Linked DNA regions of Homo sapiens: all the other regions are linked to region 1. The links are contacts of gene promoters, found by promoter capture Hi-C in human tissues and cell types (Jung and others, 2019). All regions are on one chromosome and are shown on one strand. The core of a region is centred on a gene start or on the middle of the fragment in contact, and the rest is flanking DNA. Distances in the headings are between cores, read along the strand shown.

What was found. The method cuts DNA at HindIII sites, captures the fragments that hold promoters and counts their contacts. A contact is called where the count stands out against the background at its distance.
Region 2: a fragment that was not itself captured here is called in contact with the fragment with the promoter of TPBG in region 1 in 2 of the 25 tissues and cell types used here (H1 embryonic stem cells and hippocampus).
Region 3: a contact is called between a fragment that was not itself captured here and the fragment with the promoter of TPBG in region 1, in 4 of the 25 tissues and cell types used here (H1 embryonic stem cells, dorsolateral prefrontal cortex, neural progenitor cells and 1 more).
Region 4: a fragment that was not itself captured here is called in contact with the fragment with the promoter of TPBG in region 1 in 3 of the 25 tissues and cell types used here (heart right ventricle, neural progenitor cells and thymus).
Region 5: a contact is called between a fragment that was not itself captured here and the fragment with the promoter of TPBG in region 1, in 1 of the 25 tissues and cell types used here (neural progenitor cells).
Region 6: a contact is called between a fragment that was not itself captured here and the fragment with the promoter of TPBG in region 1, in 2 of the 25 tissues and cell types used here (dorsolateral prefrontal cortex and hippocampus).

Annotation. Positions count from the first base shown.
Region 1 is chr6:82,362,261-82,365,404 of GRCh38, forward strand. It overlaps TPBG (trophoblast glycoprotein), which reads left to right and starts at 1,557. Exons shown (of 2, transcript NM_001376922.1): 1 at 1,557-1,648; 2 at 2,363-3,144. The coding sequence starts at 2,702. LOC105377875 (a long non-coding RNA gene) reads right to left here and starts at 1,397. Exons shown (of 3, transcript XR_942738.4): 1 at 1,352-1,397. RefSeq lists enhancers at 990-1,503, 1,504-2,015, 2,167-3,069, 3,070-3,144 and a silencer at 3,038-3,117. The HindIII fragment of the contact is 6,837 bases long and covers 1-2,561 here.
Region 2 is chr6:82,737,339-82,740,763 of GRCh38, forward strand. No RefSeq gene overlaps it. Among named protein-coding and RNA genes, the nearest start is that of UBE3D, 330 kb to the right of the region's middle. The HindIII fragment of the contact is 3,795 bases long and covers 113-3,425 here.
Region 3 is chr6:82,697,947-82,700,873 of GRCh38, forward strand. No RefSeq gene overlaps it. Among named protein-coding and RNA genes, the nearest start is that of TPBG, 340 kb to the left of the region's middle. The HindIII fragment of the contact is 5,595 bases long and covers 1-2,927 here.
Region 4 is chr6:82,822,186-82,825,196 of GRCh38, forward strand. All of the region lies in intron 2 of LOC105377877 (a long non-coding RNA gene), which reads right to left. Among named protein-coding and RNA genes, the nearest start is that of UBE3D, 240 kb to the right of the region's middle. The HindIII fragment of the contact is 4,467 bases long and covers 1-3,011 here.
Region 5 is chr6:82,672,489-82,675,718 of GRCh38, forward strand. The region is part of intron 5 of LOC105377876 (a long non-coding RNA gene); the gene reads right to left. Among named protein-coding and RNA genes, the nearest start is that of TPBG, 310 kb to the left of the region's middle. The HindIII fragment of the contact is 3,199 bases long and covers 1-3,059 here.
Region 6 is chr6:82,763,489-82,766,743 of GRCh38, forward strand. No RefSeq gene overlaps it. Among named protein-coding and RNA genes, the nearest start is that of UBE3D, 300 kb to the right of the region's middle. The HindIII fragment of the contact is 3,848 bases long and covers 1-3,255 here.

The DNA.
Region 1 (3,144 bases), core at 307-2,806:
AGTAAAATTGACTCTTTTGGTTTACAAAGTTCTATGAGTTATAACACGTTGTATAGGTTTATGTAACCACCACCACAATCCGGATACAGAACATGACTACAGCTTTAGAGATTCTTTTTCAAAGTGTTTTACATTCATGTTGCAAAACACTTTTAAAAATAAGAAAAGAGATGTAGATAAACGTGCTGAAGATGCAAATTAATGAAACCAGCTTTTGTGCACAAATCTCTGCAGTTTCCAGTGTTTTCAGCTTTTGTCTGAGCCATTTTTGCTGTCGGCTTTGCAGACTATCTCTTTCTATAAAAGTAATCAGGCGTCCGTTGGAGAGTTGGGGTCTTTCTTCACACTAAAGGCACATGTCCCAGGCACAAGCCTCAGGATCCTTATTTGATCTTTTTTAATACGACCAGGTCTTAAATTTCCGAACCATGTTTTCCCTAATTGCCATTTTCTCTCTAAAATGAAGAAGCCTGGAAGAACCTTCTTATCCCTTCGGGGAAATTATTTAATTGGGACAAAGGGGATGTGGAGTTACAGAGAGCAACGATAGGGCTTTCAGAACCCAAAACCTGTCTGGTATAATAACAGATCCTTCCGGTAACCAACCATTCAATTTGTCCCTCTCCCCAACCCCATCCTCTCCATCACCATCTGCCAGATGCCCCCTGGGACAATCGACTTTGAAACCAAACTTCTCTCCCAGGTCAGCTCCTGCAATCCCCACTCCTCATCCTTGGAGCTTTCTCCACAGAAGTGACTTGACACACCGCGCTACATCTGGGGAGGGGGGCGGGTCCGCTTTCCGGGAGACTCAAGTCTTTGCTATTTGCCTTTTGTTTCTGGGATGCCTTTGGCTGCCTTTCTCTTCCATCTGCTTTTAATTTTGGTAAGAGAAAAGCTAATGAATCAGGAATGAATCTCCTCTCCACTAATCTTTTTTTTTTCTTTCTCTCTCTCTCTCTCTTAAAGTTGGCGCGCTCTCTTCACAAGTTCCATCACTACCCAAGAAGTGAGGGGGCGGGGGGGACAGGCGGGAAGGCATTAATTACACCTAAATCTGAAGTTTGCGGCCTCAAGTACCACTTTGATGGGGAGAGCTTCTGAAGCTTCCATACAACCTGCCGTGCCTTTGCTGCTGCCGCAGTAGATTTTCAGCTCATTTCTTTCTGCTGCTGCTTCGCGCTGCTCTGTCATGCCTAAATCTATCTCGTCACTGCCAAAGGTGCCTGAATCAGGGTGAATTCCACGAGATTCACCAGCGGTTTTGCTCCAGTCCAAGGTAAATACAGTATGCAAAATGAGGAACCACCCAAGGATGTCGGGGAGGGGGGAGAGAAAGGGATTCCCTCACCTTTTCCGGCACATTCCTCGTTAATTTCCACCAGGAGGAGGCGCGCAGCCCAGCTCCCCTAGTCTCTCTTCTTAAATCCCCCTACCTACGGCTGCCGAGGTTGGCCGCGCGTCGGGAATCTCCCCGACAGTCCTGGCCCTCCCCCGCCCCCCGGGTTGGTTTTTCCCAGCTGCGGAGGTTGGGAGGTTGGGCCAGGGGCTGGGGTGCGAAGAGAGTCGGCGCCCGCAACGCGGAGCCGGGAAGTCGTCGCTACTCTGGTGGAACTCAGAGTTGGTTCTGGAGGCGGCGGACGCGGAGGTGAGCAGTGGGAGCCCGCGGCCTGGGAGAGACCCGGGAGGCGTCGTTGGGGCCCCTCCCCATCCTCGGGTGGAGAGTAGGGTTGGTTCGGGTTGCCACTGTACCCCGAGTCCCACTGCTGCTTTGTTCCCAGACTCTCCCCTCCTCTTTGGAGATGACTTGAACCCCTTTGAGATCCGAGGGGCTGGCGGGGCGCGGGCTGGGGGGCGACAGTTGTAGCTCCACTTCCTGCTAATGCGAGAAGGTACAAAAAGAGATCAAAAAGTCCTGTAACCTGAAACTTCCCTCGCATCCTAACCGGGACCTGGTGGAGAGGTCTGGGCGGGGGCGGAGACACCCGGAGGCCGACCTTCCGCCGAGGCGGTGCAGGAAGGAACGGGAGAGGGAGAAGTTTGGTAGGGAAGGAATTGGGGATTAAGCGGTAAGTTAGACGCGGGAGACGAGTCTCCTCGGGAAAGGCGGAGGGCGGGAGGCCGGTCGGGTTTATTTAGTGTGGGCCAGGGAAGAAGGAAGACTTTGCGGTCTGGGTGTCGGATGCGCGTCCCCCTCCGGAGTAAAAGTGACCGGAGGGGTTGGGGAGGCGAGGCCGGGGCGGGCTTTTGGAAGGAGGTCTCTGGGACAGACTGGAGACGACTAGACTCGAAAAGGCCGGTTTTTGCACTCCGGAAGCCGCGGCAGCCACCGCTGTTCACGCCTCTCTCCTGCTTGTCCCAGGTCCCTCAGAGGATCCAGCGAGGGGCGCCAACAAGAGGCGAAGAGGTGGCACCAGGGCGGCGGCAGGAAGAGGAGCGGGAGCAGGAGCGCGGAGCGGAGCGTCCCGACCCGCCGTGCGTACTTTCTGGAGGGAAGGGGCGGGGGAATCGGCCCCTGAGGGAAGCGCCCGGTGGCGAGGGGGTTAGCCAAGTTCCGGCTGCGGCGCCACTCCCTCGGTTCCACGAGAGGAAAGTTTTTTTTTTCCAGACGCTTCCGCCGGCTCGCGCCCTCCGGGCCCAGCCTCCCGAGCCTTCGGAGCGGGCGCCGTCCCAGCCCAGCTCCGGGGAAACGCGAGCCGCGATGCCTGGGGGGTGCTCCCGGGGCCCCGCCGCCGGGGACGGGCGTCTGCGGCTGGCGCGACTAGCGCTGGTACTCCTGGGCTGGGTCTCCTCGTCTTCTCCCACCTCCTCGGCATCCTCCTTCTCCTCCTCGGCGCCGTTCCTGGCTTCCGCCGTGTCCGCCCAGCCCCCGCTGCCGGACCAGTGCCCCGCGCTGTGCGAGTGCTCCGAGGCAGCGCGCACAGTCAAGTGCGTTAACCGCAATCTGACCGAGGTGCCCACGGACCTGCCCGCCTACGTGCGCAACCTCTTCCTTACCGGCAACCAGCTGGCCGTGCTCCCTGCCGGCGCCTTCGCCCGCCGGCCGCCGCTGGCGGAGCTGGCCGCGCTCAACCTCAGCGGCAGCCGCCTGGACGAGGTGCGCGCGGGCGCCTTCGAGCATCTGCCCAGCCTGCGCCAGCTCGA
Region 2 (3,425 bases), core at 760-3,259, 380 kb after region 1:
GTGGTGCTATGAAGTTCCAAGCACTCCAGTAATTCCAGAGGAAAGGAGTCTCTCCCTGAAATCCGCAAAATCTATTACCAAAAATGTGGTACCAAACTAAAAAAGACTAAGAGAAGTCACTGGGGAAAAAATATTAAAGCAAACAAGGAATAATGCCATCGTGCCATTTTTAAGTAAGATACATTTTTCATTTTGTAAATCAGATTGTAGAAATCTTAATTTTCCTTTCTGTTCTTTTACTTTTAAAGTTTTATTCTGAGTTTTCCCCTTAGTTAGAGTTATTAAAACCACCTTGACACTTGCAAAGCTAGGGTTATTTAGCAAGCATATAAATCTGAGCTTAATATCTATACCAAGAGTTCCTAAAGCCTTAGGGATTTTACTCTAAAGATGTCCTCCCAAAAGCCCCCCCTGCCACCATGTGGCAGCAAGCCTGACCTCTTAGGATTAAAGTTGGTGATGATGAGCTTCCAACTTTGCTCACAAAAATCTAAGTAAAGTTCAGGTAACATGATCCAATACCGATAAAAGAAGACGGCATCTCTGATTACATTGCAGAAACTAAGTAGGATGCATGCAGGTTGCAACTATATATACTGCAGATGGCAGATGTTAAAAAAAGAGAAAAAAACAACAGAAAACCTACCAAATTTTATTTAGTGGAATAAATAGTTATGAGAATGGCATCAAAATGTAAACCAGACAATGGCTCGGTCAGTTGGAGGAGGGGAAATACTGCAATCAGGATGGCTTTATACAGTTCATTTTCTACATGAACAAATTTTGATATGTAAGAATGTCAGTGCTGACATTCTATAGTAATATCCTAATAGCTTGGAGACCTCCTGGGGATATTATTTCTCTCTCTGCCTATCTGGTGGTATGTGAAACCAATCAGGCCCAAAATAAAACACTGAGAACAGCACAAAATGTAAGAGCAGAGAGAAAAGATGTGTTATCTGGCTGCCCCTGATCCTAAGAAAGAACTAGAAAATTCAGTCTGTATTTGATTTAAGCCAAAGATAGAGGAAAAAAAGAAAAAGAAAACCAATAACAACAACAACAACAACAACAAAACCTCCTTTCTTCCTATTTCTGTTATTAGTGAATTTGGGAAAAGGACAAATACTCCCAACTAGAGTTGAGGACTGAGAGCTGTAATATGAGAATAATTACAAAAGGATCTCCTTCCCCCTATACCCTCCCCTTCTAGGTTAGAGTCTGAGGTGTTTTTGTTTGTTCAGAAGCTCTTTTTTATAAAATTCAATAATTATTTTAAGGAAAAAACTTCTAAATCTAACATGAATTAATATAAACATTATTAATTATACATACATAATAGCTCAAATTGTAGCTCAAATTAACTCCTTCAGTTTAATTAAGTCAGAACTGCTGGTAGTGAGAAAGTTTTTCCTGAAATAAGCATGGTGAAGGCAATTACTCTGCTCTGCTGAGATTGTTGCAGGTGAAAAGCAAGAAGAATGCCCCTCCACCAAAGGACTGTTTATTTTGTGTTTAAATGTAATTAAAGCCAATTCCCATTTCCAATTGCCCTGAGACAAGCAGAATTTCCAGAATAATCTTACTGCTTTGAATTCGACTCAAGAGGGAGCCTAGAGATAGTGCAGAGCTGGGGATAAAGATGGGACATTGTTTCCTTCAGATCAGTATTAGGAAGTGCTTCTGCTTTTCTAGTAACCTGGTAAATGAGAAGATGTCTACTACAGATCATCCAGTGGTAAAGTTATAGTGGAGACATCCACTATAACTTTGATAGAAATCTATCTTTGATAGAAATGATTTAGTAAATACTGGGTATAAATCCTAGCTATGCACCTGATGGTATAACTATAAGCAGCAAGCAGTATAGAAAAAAACGCAAAAGAGATTTTCCACTTGAAGATCCCTCTCTCTATGGAGAGAGCTGTTTCTTATTCTCTTCTCTCCTTCCTATTAAACCTCCACTCCTAAAAAAAGAAAAAGAAAGAAAGAAAGAAAAAGAAAAAATGCAAAAGAATCTACTGCTAATTACTTTGAAAATGCAAACATGGTCTTGATCAACAACAGGAAAGACTTTGTTCTGTCTAGGAGAGACAGAGAAGGAGGAAATGAAGGGAAACCTTCAGCCAACAACACACCGTGTACTTTTTTTGTCCTAAGAATACACATGAATACATTAACAGCATGGGAGCAAGCTAGCAATGTCATTATCCACAGGAGTGTAGAAAGAATGTGAAAACTGTTCAAGTTACTCAAGAAATTCAGGTTAGTACAAGATTACAAACAGCTCTTCCCTCTCCAAACATGCAGAGCAAAAACATCTTTGCACCAATTTTCAAGACATAGAAATACAGCCCTGGTAGCAAGTACAGCCTATAAATATGGACCCAAAAACAAGATTCACAGGAAGCAATTTGTGCAAACACAGTTTAGCCTGTCACTAAGTAGAAAACCCAGCTAGTACCTTCTTGCACTTAAGCCATGAGACAAGAAAATCAAACTAAATGGATTTTCTAAAATCCCTAAATGAAAGCTTATATCCCTTTCTTTGGGAAAGGCAACGAAATAAGCCATTGACATTTTTTCATCCCTAACTCAGTCAGCATTCAAAATGCAGTACAAAACAGAATATTTATCCTACCACCCTTTGCCCAAATACAGATTTCCATAAAATCAATTAATCTTTAGGGTGAAAGGGGACTTGGAGGTCATGACACCCAGTCTCCCACCCAATACTCCTATAGCCAGGAGATTACCCAGCCCGTATTTGAAACACTCCACTTGGGGAGCTTACGACTGCTTCAGGCAGCTTCTTTTACTGACAAACAGTGGCAGTTATTAGAATGTTCTAATATTGGCCTGAAATCCACCTCCTGGTAATTTCCACCCACTGGTCCTAGTTTTGTTCTCTGAAGCATTTCAGAGTCTAACCCTCATCATCACCATGACAACTCTTCAAATATTCGAAGGCAGCAAGAGCTTTCTTCACTCAGGCTGCACATTCCCAGTTTCCACACCTCTTCATTTAGAGCAGAACTCGTATTCCCCAGGACACTATCCCATGACTATGTCCTATTTGGTCAATGTCAATGTGAAAATATACTTACTGGAAGATTCATATAGTATTTAGTATTGCATTTAGTAGTATTAAAAGTAATGGCAAAAACTGCAATTACTTTTGCACCAACCTAATGGATTTAGAGCCCAGTGCAAAGGCTTTTGTTCTTTCTGGAGGAACACATTTTCCTATCTAAGAATATAAACTTTTTTCAATTTCCCTAGTAATACCTGCTACCAGAACCATGAGTGATTGTACTTAACCCTGACACCCCAAGAATAGAAGTGTTTCATAGCAAACATTAGAGTATAAGATTGACTTCAGTCTCAATAAATGGTTTCAAGGACTTATGATATAGAAGGTTTTA
Region 3 (2,927 bases), core at 251-2,750, 340 kb after region 1:
TAGATGCATATATATGCAAAATGCATATATATAAATACATATATATGTATATATATATAAATATATATGTATATATAAATACATATATATGTATATATATAAATACATATATGTATATATGTAAATACATATATATGTATATATATATACACATATATATATAATATTGGAGCTAAAAAGGCTCTCTCAGAGAGCCAGACTGCACATGAAATTCCCAATAAAATGTCTGACACAGCTCTGAACTACAGGGCTTCTCAAATTTATCCACAACTCTGAACTTTTGATGTAGTCCTACAGTGGACAGACATGTTGCTCATAAGGGCAGAAAATAACAGTCTGAAGAAGTGTTCCCAGATCTGGCCTTTTTATTAGAAACCTCACTTATCCAAAGACTGATGCTTATTAAGCTTGACATAACTCCTCCCAGACCTGAGACTTCAGCTTCAGATTTATTTTCCTTGTTGTATTTTATAAGACATGAAAAATTAAACACTCTCATATGTCATTATTATTTGTAATTGCAGGTCGTATTTTGCAGGCTGATTGCTCCCTGCTGCCCCTGTGTTCTATGAGTATGTGTAATTTTGTGCATTAGAGAATTTTCTATTTGTCTGCCAATGGGCTCTTTTGCCAAGATGTAGGCAGGCATAGATATCAAAAGCCTTCAGAGCAATAGCAAAAACAGAAGCTTGATTCAAATCACTTTTATGAAAGGAAACTCTTTTTTTCACATAATTTGGTAGGAATTCATCATTGTGCTACAGAGTGAATGGAGGCTAACAGAAGCAAGAAGGGTCAAAAAGGAAATAGATACAGAACATGGGCTTGAGAGTGGAGGGCATAGAACAGATGAGTGTCAAGGTAGATAAGGAAGATTTTGGCAAGTAAGAATCAGGAGCGAGAATGGCAAGTTTGGGAAACAAGAGTGCAAAATGAGTGAGGGCGCCAAGGTGCCAGATGAGAATGCCTAGAGAGGATGGCAGAGGTGAAACTGGCATTGGTGAAATTGACAGAACTATGTAGGAAGCAGGCCAGACTCAAACAAAACTGAGACCAGCAGCCAAGGCTATGACTATAAGACTAATGGAGATGCAAGACAGTGAGATGGAAGCAAAACAGACAATCAATTTTGACTATTCTAATGAGCCTTAATTAACTACTTTGGCTGAAAACCTCCCATGACAGAACACAGCAGCCTCCAGAGCAGCTTAAAGAAACTGTCAGGATGTACATCAGCTGTTAACAGAACTCATCACTTTAATTTTCTTTAGCCAGTCATTTTCTACTGTATGGGTGAATGGTCAAAGGTGTGAATCTGAATTCACCAAACAAGATGCAAAAAAAAAAATAAAGTTATGAGCTGTATTTATGTTACTAGCAGAAACCTTCCTTAGGAGATCATTAATATTTCAGGAGGTCCAATTAATAAGAACCATTTCTACATAAAATTTTGAATTCCTTAGGCAAGCCACCAGGCTAGATAAAGAAACCCACCAGATGCCTTATAAGTTGTATTATCCTGTTATCCTTAGAAATGAATGGATATTGAATTCAACCCCTAAGTCAGTGGTTCCCACTCCGGATAGCACGTTAGAATTACATGGGGGAAATGCTGATTAGCCTGGGGTGGAACATGAGTATTGAAATTTCTTAGGAGCTTCCTATGTGATTGAAAGGACTGAGAACTATTGCTATGTGGAAGAGACTCAATGAGGAAAACACAGCTCTAACTACCACAATATTAAAAATATGTTTTAAGATGTAGCGAGGATTTCCTAGGATATCATGCAAACTTTGCTTCTACTTCTTTGGGTAAAAGGCATGTAGTGACGTTAGCCAATCTCAATATCATGGGCTCATCTCCTGAGGTTACTATGCCTCTTTTTTCTTTAAAGAAAAAGAAACAAGAGCATGTTGCTTAATCAAGCTTACTTAATTTGTGCATATGTCCAATAAGTTTCAATTGCTTTGTGAGATAGTATTGTTGGGTCCTGTTCCTTTTCTGTCCATTATAATTTGTGCAGCCTAATTTATCCTTTCAGTTTCTGAGTATGTATTCAATGCTTTTAAGTGACAGACAGAGGGGAAATGTCTGTAGTATTTCAAATAGAGATCTAAAGCAGTGGAATGGTTTAACCAAGGCAACTGCTAAAAAGCAAATAGATGGCTTCAGGCCCAACAGAAATAGATATTATATCAAAAGAATGCTTTCTAAAAAGTAATATTTGGAAATGAAGATAAACACAAACTTTGGAAGACTCAAGAATGTCATTTTGATACAGGAACAATGTCTAATGACAATTCAGAAATCATTGGTTAATAAGAAACATATAAGTGTATAAGTATGGCCAGACTTAACTAACTTAGGGTTATATATGCATATTAATTGACAGACATTAGCCATGACCTATAAGTTTAAATGAAAATTAAAATTCTACTAAATATTAGATAAGAATAAATCTTAAGTCTTATAAAGCACTATAGGCATATGAAGAGAGTAGTACTATAATGTTAGCATGAATATTATTCATTTTGACTTCTTAGTTAAATTATCCCCTGGTCTAAGATTATATTCAAAGGCAAAGTACTATTCAAATTCATCTAAGGTGTAAAAGCAAGAACAAAGACCCAGCAAATTGAGGTCATTCAAATATATTTTTAAAATAATAAGCACAATAAATTAAAGCAAGAATTCTCAAGGAAAGATTAGATTTTCTTGCCCTACATAAAAATCTTTGAAACACTTAGCAAAAATAATTCAAATGGCAAAGTACAAACTGAGGGTCTTTTAGGGCAGCTTGGCAATGGAAGGGCCAAGGAAGGATAAGAGGAGCATATGGTCAGCCAGCATGAGTCAAGGAAAGATCATAAGTAATCAGAGAAATCGAAGAAGTATCCAATTTTTATTTTGATCTGGTTTCAGCATT
Region 4 (3,011 bases), core at 430-2,929, 460 kb after region 1:
ATTAAATGAGATATATGAAAGAGCCTAATGTGTCATAAATGTTCAATAAATGGTAGCCATAACTGAGCTATATTATCATTCAGCCTTCTGTGAACAGGTTATATTCTATTAATATATTAATTACATATATTATATTTATATATATTTATATATATTAAATGCTGCTTATCGGCCAGGCATGGTGGCTCACACCTGTAGCCCCAGCATATTGGGAGGCTGAGGCAGGAAGAGTGCTTGAGCCCAGAAGTTGGAGACCAGCCCAGGAAACACAGTGAGTAGAGACCTCATCTCTACAAAAAATAAACAAAATTAGCTGGGCATGGTGGGACATGCCTGCAGTCTCAACTGCTTGGGAGGCTGAGGTGGGAGGATGGCTTGAGCCTGGGAAGGCAAGGCTGCAGTGAGCCAAGATCATGTCTCAAGAAAAAAAAAAAAAAGAAAAGAAATAAAAATGATTTTTATTGAAAAGGATGTGATTTCTAAAAAGAAAGCTTTGTTTATAAAAAATTTTTAAAGGATTTTTAAAAAGTTTAAATGATCATACATTTAACAGTTAACATCAAACATATATTAGCTTGTAAGTATCTATTAACCTAGAAAGTAGGTTTATGTTCCAAAGTAAATGTGGATGAAAAATAAGAGAAAATTAATTCTGATTTGCTATTTCATTATACTTTCTATTGGATGTTTGGATTTTTAAATTTCCATTGACCTTTAAACTGTTTATGTATCACAAGGCACATTTTTAAATGTTCTTTTGGACACATCCCTAGACAATTTAAAAGAAACAAGCTAATCCTGGATATCAACTACAGCACACACATTGAAGTTTACCAAACACCATGTAAGGGAAATGTGATTCCTGAGTCATAGGGTCTAAAGAATTGTAGACATGAAAGTTATTTTAAAAGTTGGTCATTTTTAATTAGCTCCTGTAACATCATTTGTCATGGTAAAGTGTGAGAGACCTGTTCATAAATATTGGAATTTGAAGGTTGCATTTATAGATAACATAGCTTCTAGGCTTTTTCTAACTGGTCAATTGTCTACAAGTCGTCTGTCACAAGGACTAGACACACATTCTTATAGCTCTCAAAAATATTCATTTCTAGAAGATCATAGTCACAGTTCCTTAAAAGAAAAACATTAAAAGACATGTGTTATTAAAAAATTAATATGTCTTTTTACCAATATGAAGTTCCTGGATTTCATTTGCCACACTGTTCAATGAGTTAAATGTCAGAAATCAGTAACAAAGCCTATATGTTCCATGCCATCTCTGACAACAGTGTAAATTAAAAGGCTGTCAAGTTATTTAGTTTTAAAGATGAAGGTAGACTTTCTGGCAGTCACATTTTCCATCACTGATGACTCTGACCATATCCAAAGAGGATATGAACTAACAAAACCCAGACAGGGCAGGAAGGAGAAGGACAAAAGGAAGTAAAAAGCATAATGAAAAACAGAAAAAGAACAGTTTCCATAGCAGAAATAGAAGTAATGGAAGTAAATAGTTATTTTTCCAACTACCTTGAATATAAACAGAACTCAAGAAAATCAGAAATTTTTTTTTTCAGTAAGATACAGTAAATAAACAAAAAGACATCCCTTCAGAATCAGCTGTTTTTAACTTAAATGCAATTGTCCTTGTGGGGAAAAACACACTCTAAGCAAACGTTTTCAAACTGCATTATAAATACAGATTATATTTCATGTCTTAGTGTTAGGAATGGCTGAGTACGCCTGCTAGACATTTGGCTCTCCTACCCAATCCAAGCAGTGGTACCAAGGCAGCAGCTCTGATGAAATGATTTGAGAATGAAAGGAGGATTTGGGAAACTAATTGGATTTCTTATCTAACTTGTCCTTTTGGAAAGAAATGAGTCTCATTTCTTTCACGAAAGTGAATTCTAGAATTAGGATTCATTTATGCTAATTTCTGTATAGATATCTGGTTGTGCTATTTTTATATACAATATCATATCTGTATATTTTCCCACAAAAATACTAAAATGAACAATCACACAAGCAAAGATTAGTGTTAATCTGTTCAGATGTCAAATTCCTATAGAGGTTAAAGACTAATACTTGATGGTGTTTATACTGTTACAGTGAGATACCATTAAAATAGATGGATTTAGAATACTGCTGTCAAAATATGCTCCCTAAATTGTAATTCAATACAGTAAAATTTCTGATTCAATAAGGCCCAGTGTGACTGTCAGGTAACATTACCTTGTAATGGATTCCACTACATACACGTTTATCCACACAAGCACATTAATAAATGTATAGGCAAAATGCCATGTTTTGAAAAATTGTGAACAGTAAATAGCATTCGTTTCTGATCTTTCTATTATTAATTTTTGTTTCTTCTGTAGCTGTCATGTATAACTAGGCTGTTTGCATTATATGAGCATTCCCCAGAATACAATATTTAAGAAAGAATTCTACAAATCCAAGATAGCAGTGTCCACAGGTCCCAGACATATGGTATATACTTGTCCTTTGAGTTACTGCTTGCTTAAAAAAACCAGAGTGGTTTCCAGCACAGACACAAGATGGGACAACTCCTAATGCACTTCCCTTCTTGGGTACTTTCTAGGTAACTGACATTGTCCAGCAGGTGTATATTTCTTCTCATTTGAGAGTCAAACGCAGAAGCTAGCATTGATTATGAATATGTGACAGAAAGAACATAGTAACATGTACAATGAGTTCAACCAAAAAAAACCCTATATATTCTTTCTGGGTTATGTGGTACTTTCACATGCTTAACAATACTGTAGATACCATTCTATAGTTTGCATGGGTTTAAGGTGATTCCAGACCCATCATCTTCCACTTCCCCTTCCATTCCTTTCCCTTCCCTAGAAACTTAGTTCTAAAGCCATTAGGTAGGACAGAATAACATAGGTGTCCAGACCAGGACGGGGACAGGAGGCACAGTGGTCCACAGCAGGTATCAGAGCCCAAGGAGGGTGAGGAAGGTATACGTGTCAGAAAGGACC
Region 5 (3,230 bases), core at 210-2,709, 310 kb after region 1:
AAACCCTTTTTACTGTAACAAAGATGAACCATACTTTTGAAAGATTCAGTTTTTAACAGCTAGAAAGGCACATCAGTATTTTAATTTCTGTAATTCATTTTTGATTCCCAAAGCGATGACTGTAAGATCAGTAATAGGCACACAATCACACAGCCTGAGAATGTACTAATTCAAACTATTGCACTAGTTTCATCTGGTCAGTCAGTTTGTGGTTATCCAAATTAAAGTAGCCTGATAAGGCTGTTTATTTCATAAGTCATCCATTATAAAATATGGAATAGGTTTCAAAACTGTATCAAATGTTGTAGGAATATACCACACAAAAAAATTGGCTAAGTTTCTCCACATGATCCCCTAGTCTCTCCCTTTAATACAGGTATACATTTTTTCTGAAATTTTCTTTATTTAATTTCAATATATCTGTTAGAGATTTCCATGTTAGTTCACATATATCTTCTTTGCTCATTTCATGTATTCTTATCTAATTTAACTTAACCCAACCCAGGTAGTTTCCTTCTCAAAGCCTTTCTCCAGTAGTGTTTGGGTTTCTAAGTACCCTTTCAACCCTAACTATTATGAGATGACAAAAGATGGGCAGTAAATATGTTCCCAACAGAAATGAGTGTTGGCAACCTAATGGATTAAAAAGTCCCAAACTGGAGATACCACCAAGACACTACTTGAAAGTATAATGTTGCCGTTTATTACAACAAAAACAAAGATAAATAGATGGGACTTAAACTAAAGTTTCTGCACAGCAAAAGAAATAATCAGCAGAGTTAACAGACAACCCACAGAGTGGGAGAAAATCTTCACAACCTGTACATCTGACAAAGGACTAATATCCAGAATCTACAAAGAACTCAAACAAATTAGCAAGAAAAAAACAATCCCATCAAAAAGTGTGCTGAGGACATGAATAGACAATTCTAAAAAGAAGATATAAAAATGGCCAACAAACATGTAAAAAATGCTCAACATCACTAATGATCAGGGAAATGGAAATCAAAATCACAATGCAATACCACCTTAATTCTGCAAGAATGGTCATAATCAAAAAAATCAAAAAATAATAGATGTTGGCATGGATGTGGTGAAATGGGAACACTTTTACACTGTTGGTGGGAATGTAAACTGGTACAACCACTATGGAAAACAGTGTGGGGATTCCTTAAAGAACTAAAAGTAGATCTACTATTTGATCCAGCAATTCCACTACTGGGGATCTACCCAGAGGAAAAGAAGTTATTATATGAAAAAGATATTAATACTTGCACACACATGTTTATAGCAGCACAATTTGTAGTTGCAAAACTATGGAACCAGCCCAAATGCCCATCAATCAACAAATGGATAAAGAAAATGTGGTCTATATATACCATGGACTACTACTCAGCCATAAAAAGGAATGAAATAATGGCACTCCCAGCAACTTGGATGGAATTGGAGACCATTATTATAAGTGAAGTAACTCAGAAATGGAAAACCAAGCACCATGTGTTCTCACTGATAAGTGGGAGCTAAGCTATGAGGACACAAGGCATAAGAATGATACAATAAATTTTGGGGACTCGGGGGAGAGGATGGGAGGAGGTGAGGGATAAAAGACTACACACTGGGTACAGTGTACACTGCTTGGGTGATGGGTGCACCGGAATCTCAGAAATCACCACTAAAGAACTTATTTGTGTAACTAAACACCACCTGTTTCCCCAAAACCTATTGAAATAAAAAATAAAGAAAAGAAACAAATAAATCATAATAAAGCTTTCCTGAAGACCAAAAAATAAAACAAAATAAAACCTCTAGAAATAAACCTAGACAGATATGTGGTGAGAAAAAAAAGAAAATTAATGTTGCCATTTATAATTTCCCAGTGTCATTCACCAACCTAGCTGGCTATTGCTTTAGACAAAATGATCACTAATTACAGCAATAGGCTATGAGCCATATTTTTTATAAAAGTTTCAAGGAATCATTTCCTAGCATCATAGTCCCACCTTATACACCATATTGTATCAACACTTTACATTATTGCAAACTTTAGAGGTGTTCTTCGGCCTCTTTTCAATGGTTTCCTTTCATTTGATAATGTTATCCCTTTATCTCTCTGCACTAAAGGTAACATCACACCCCCACATCTGATATAGTTATAGCACCCAGAGCAGAACTTACAATGGAGAACATGATCAATTCTTCCAAAAGTACTGTAGGCCTACCCAGAAGCACAGTCATTATCTTAGCTGCTTCCGTCTAATGATAGAAAAATCTTTTATAATATGTTTGCGTTAGCATTTTTCCAAAAACCCTGAAATTTGAATTTGTTTTACTCCAGAAAGACATTAAGTTGTTTCTGCATTCAAACAACTCTTAATGCAATAGTTCAGTATACCCCAAACCTATGCTATCTCATTTTGTAATTTAATTCCCTCAGTATCATTCACCTTGGTTTTTGTTACTCCCAAAGGATAAAATCTCATTTGTGCAAATTTGCAAAATATCTTTTTATAAAAATCTTTTTTTGCAAACAAGTAATGAGTAGAACTAAAGTTCCCAAGGGGTTTCTGTTTTACACAAAAACAAAATTTGTAGTCCTGAAATGTTGAATGACTAAAATCTATATTTACCTGTTTAATCACTTGCCTTCATAAATCCTCTAGACCTGATATCCCTAATTAAAATTCATAGCATTCCAGGTGTGCACAGATGTGTTAACTGCTAATGCATACTTATCTATTTCAATGAATTGAGGAAACATGCTGAGGGTTTTTATTTCACAGTGTGGCCAAATTATGCTTCGCTGTTTACATCATTGAAAGAACTAAAAGGGTTTTCCTATCTGAGATTAAGGCCCAATATCTCACTTGAACCCATAATAACTAGAAACTAGGGAGATAAGAAAATCTTATACTGGGATTGAACAAATAAGTAAATTGATGGTGGACAGTGGGATCCAGGTTTCTCTCTGCTGAGAGGTTATAGATAAGTTGGAAGTCAGAATGAAACATGTGGTGTGGGCTTGGGGTCAAAGACATCAGTGTAAATTCATCTTTAACTTAAAATATATACAGATAGATAAATACAGAAATGATTTTGTATATGTGTGAACACATGGGTTAGTATACATACATATATTTCCTAGCTCTGCCCTCTGAGAGGACCTTCTAGAAGCAATAACATCCCAGGATGAATGAGCACACCCAATGCCCAGATCTTGGTTTCTAACACCA
Region 6 (3,255 bases), core at 267-2,766, 400 kb after region 1:
CTATAATTTATTAATTATATTTATTATTAATAAATATATTAGCAAACAAAAAGGGGTGTTCTAGAGCATTACTTTACAGCCCTTTAAAATACTGAATTATAGGGGCGTTGATTCCTATTTCTGTATCATAAGCCTCTCGTGTTTTACTTGTAATTTCTTTATAGGAAAAGTCACTATTTTGCCAGTCTTTAAATTCTAGTAATTCAGTTCACTTAGATTGAACAAACTTTTGATGAGCATCTCTGTGACAGGACCTTTGCCAAGGACCGGAGGGATGCAAAGGTGAGTAAGACAGCAAAATGACCCCCAGGAAATTCACAGGAGAGTCTGCATCCATATCAGAATCTTTCACAATTGGCCTGTGGGGCTTTAGCATCTTCTCATTTCTACATGAAGTTATTAGGCTGTGTTTCAAGGTAGCCAGGAGTCATTTGGCTCCTTTTTATTTTCCTTTTTTCCTTTGTCGCCCAGGCTGGAGTGCAGTGGAGTGGTCTCTGCTCACTGCAGCCTCCACCTCCTGGGTTCAAGTGATTCTCCTGCCTCAGCCTCCTGAGTAGCTGGGACTACAGGCACCTGCCGCCACCCCTGGCTAATTTTTGTATTTTTTAGTACAGACAGTGTTTCACCATATTGGCCAGGCTGGTCTCGAACTCCTGACCTCCTGATCTGCCCACCTCGGCCTCCCAAAGTGCTGGGATTACAGGCGTGAGCCACCGCGCCCGGCCATTTGGCTCTTTTGGTTAATGAAGGTTGGAAGCGAGGTCCCAAAGGCATAAAACGTAGTTTTGGTACATGCTCTTTTCTGGTGAGTGATATCAGCAACCAAAATTAGAGTCGTGCCATGCCCAGATCAGGTTTAACACCATTTTATGTACATCAGCGTTACAGCTTCTGTATTCACATTCCCAGCTGGATTTTCAGACAGAGGCACAAAGTTTATATAGGTAGAGTATTGGCTCTACCCCCTTAAAGCTTCATTTTGCATTGACTGGAATTCAGCTGCAGGTCCCTATCAGGTGACTATAAGCAGGTTTAATTGCTCTTACATCCTTTACTAACACTGGAGACAAAAAATATCTGGCATCCCAGTGTTTATAGCCCTGTTATGGCACTCATGGTATTGTTTGTGAGTTTATATATTTACATGTCTATCTTCCTTCTCCAGAATATGAGTTCTCTGAGGGCAGGGATGTGTCTTATTGTTCTTTGTCTCCCTAGTGCTATGCAAAATATCTGAAAATATATTTTTGTTTAAAAGTATTGAATAAATGAAAAAAATAAGGTTACTCAGTGGACAGTCTATCCTGCAAGAATGATATCGAATATTTCTTGTTTTTCATACATGTTCACTCCCATTTCCTAAGGTATTGAATCTTTCACTCTGTACTTAAAGAACATCAATGAAAACCTGGCCTTGATAATATTAGCAACATGGATTAATTCCTCTCTATGTTCCAAATCACATGCTAAGAGTGTGTGTGTGTGTGTGTGTGTGTGTGTGTGTGTGTGTGTGTGTTTACTTACATGTTGCATTATTTTATCCTTACAACAATGCATTAATTAGATACCTTTATCATCACTGCAACACATGAAAGAATCAAGGCCTAGAAATAACAAGCCTATTTCAGGACACAGGGAATACAGGGAAGACATAGGATTTGGATCCACACGCTTATGCCTTTAGAGCCTAAGCATTTAGCTACTATGTTATCCTAAAGGCAGAGTTCTCCAGACTGTGAGAGGTGAGAAAAAATAGTAAAGAAATGTATTAATTTCATGAAATGGTAGAGACAGGCAAGGCAACTTAGAAAACTGTGGCTATGCCTGGAATGCTAAGCTTTGGGTTAGGCAAAACTTAATTCCAGTAATATGGAATTCCTTTGCTTTAATAAGAATAATATACTTGAAAAGTCATTCCATTATGTTTCTTAGGCAGCATTTAGCCACTTACTTATTTACATCATGAGAATAATTAGAACTCATTTTGTAATTTGTATAAATATGCATAATGAACTATTTACAATATAAGAGCCATGATCATGGCATGTAATTATAGCACAATGGATTTTTTTTACAACAGTTGATAAAATTAATCTTTTACTTGGTATTTCAATAATGCCTTTTTAAAAATTCCACTGTTTGTTTAATTATTAATATTTTTATTTCTCTCTAACATTTTTGGTAAAACTCCTTCCCCTTCTCATGGAAATATTTTTAAAATTTAAAAAGTCAGAAAGGCCTAGGTTATATCGTGGCTCTCCCACTCTAGCTGTGTGACATTGGACATGTTACCCTCACTGAGCTTCAGAGCGCCACATGTAAAACAGGAAAAGAAGCCCTAATTTGTGAATTTTTTTGAGGAGAAGAGATAATGTATAAAAATCCCCTAGCCCAAGGTCCAGTCACCTAGTAATGGTGATGATGATGATAACATCAACAACCTTTATTGACTGCTTGCAACTTCCAGGCCCTTGTCTAAGCATTTTACATGAATAAACACATTTACTCAATAGATAGTAGCGGGCAGAAGTAATTGTAGTAGTGGTGGTACTCAGTCTGAGGACCCCATTCCCATGCCCACCATTTCTCCATCAAAAACAGAGCACTGGAAACTTTTAAAACATCTTGTATTTAAAATTTTGATACTCACCCAAATGAGATGAAAATTTACGTTAACACAAAAACCTGCATACAAATGCTTATAGCAGCTTTCTTCATAACTGCCTAAACTTAGAAGCAACCAAAATGTCCTTCAGTAGGTGAATAAACTGTGGTGCATCCATACCATGAAATATCATTCAGTGATAAAAAGAAATGAGCTATCAAGCCACAAAAAGATGTGAAGGAACCTGAAATGTATGGGGACCACACAGGTCCCTGTTAAGTGAAAGAAGAAAGAAGCCAATTTGAAAAGGCTACATCCTGTGTGGTTCCAACTATATAACATTATGAAGAAGGCAAAACAATAGAGACAGTAAAAAAAAGATCAGTGTTTGCTAGGTGTTTTGTAGAGGAAAGAGGGGAATAAATAGGTGGAGCACAAAGGATTTTTAAGGCAGTGAAATTCTTCTGTATAATATAATGGCAGATATTGTCATTACATATTTGTCAACACCTGTAGAATGTATAACACAGAGTGAGTCCTAATGTAAACTATGGACTTCAGTTATTAGTAATGCATCAGTATTGATATTGAGTCATCGGTTATAACAAATGTTCCACACTAATACAAGATGTTAGTAATAGAGAAAACTA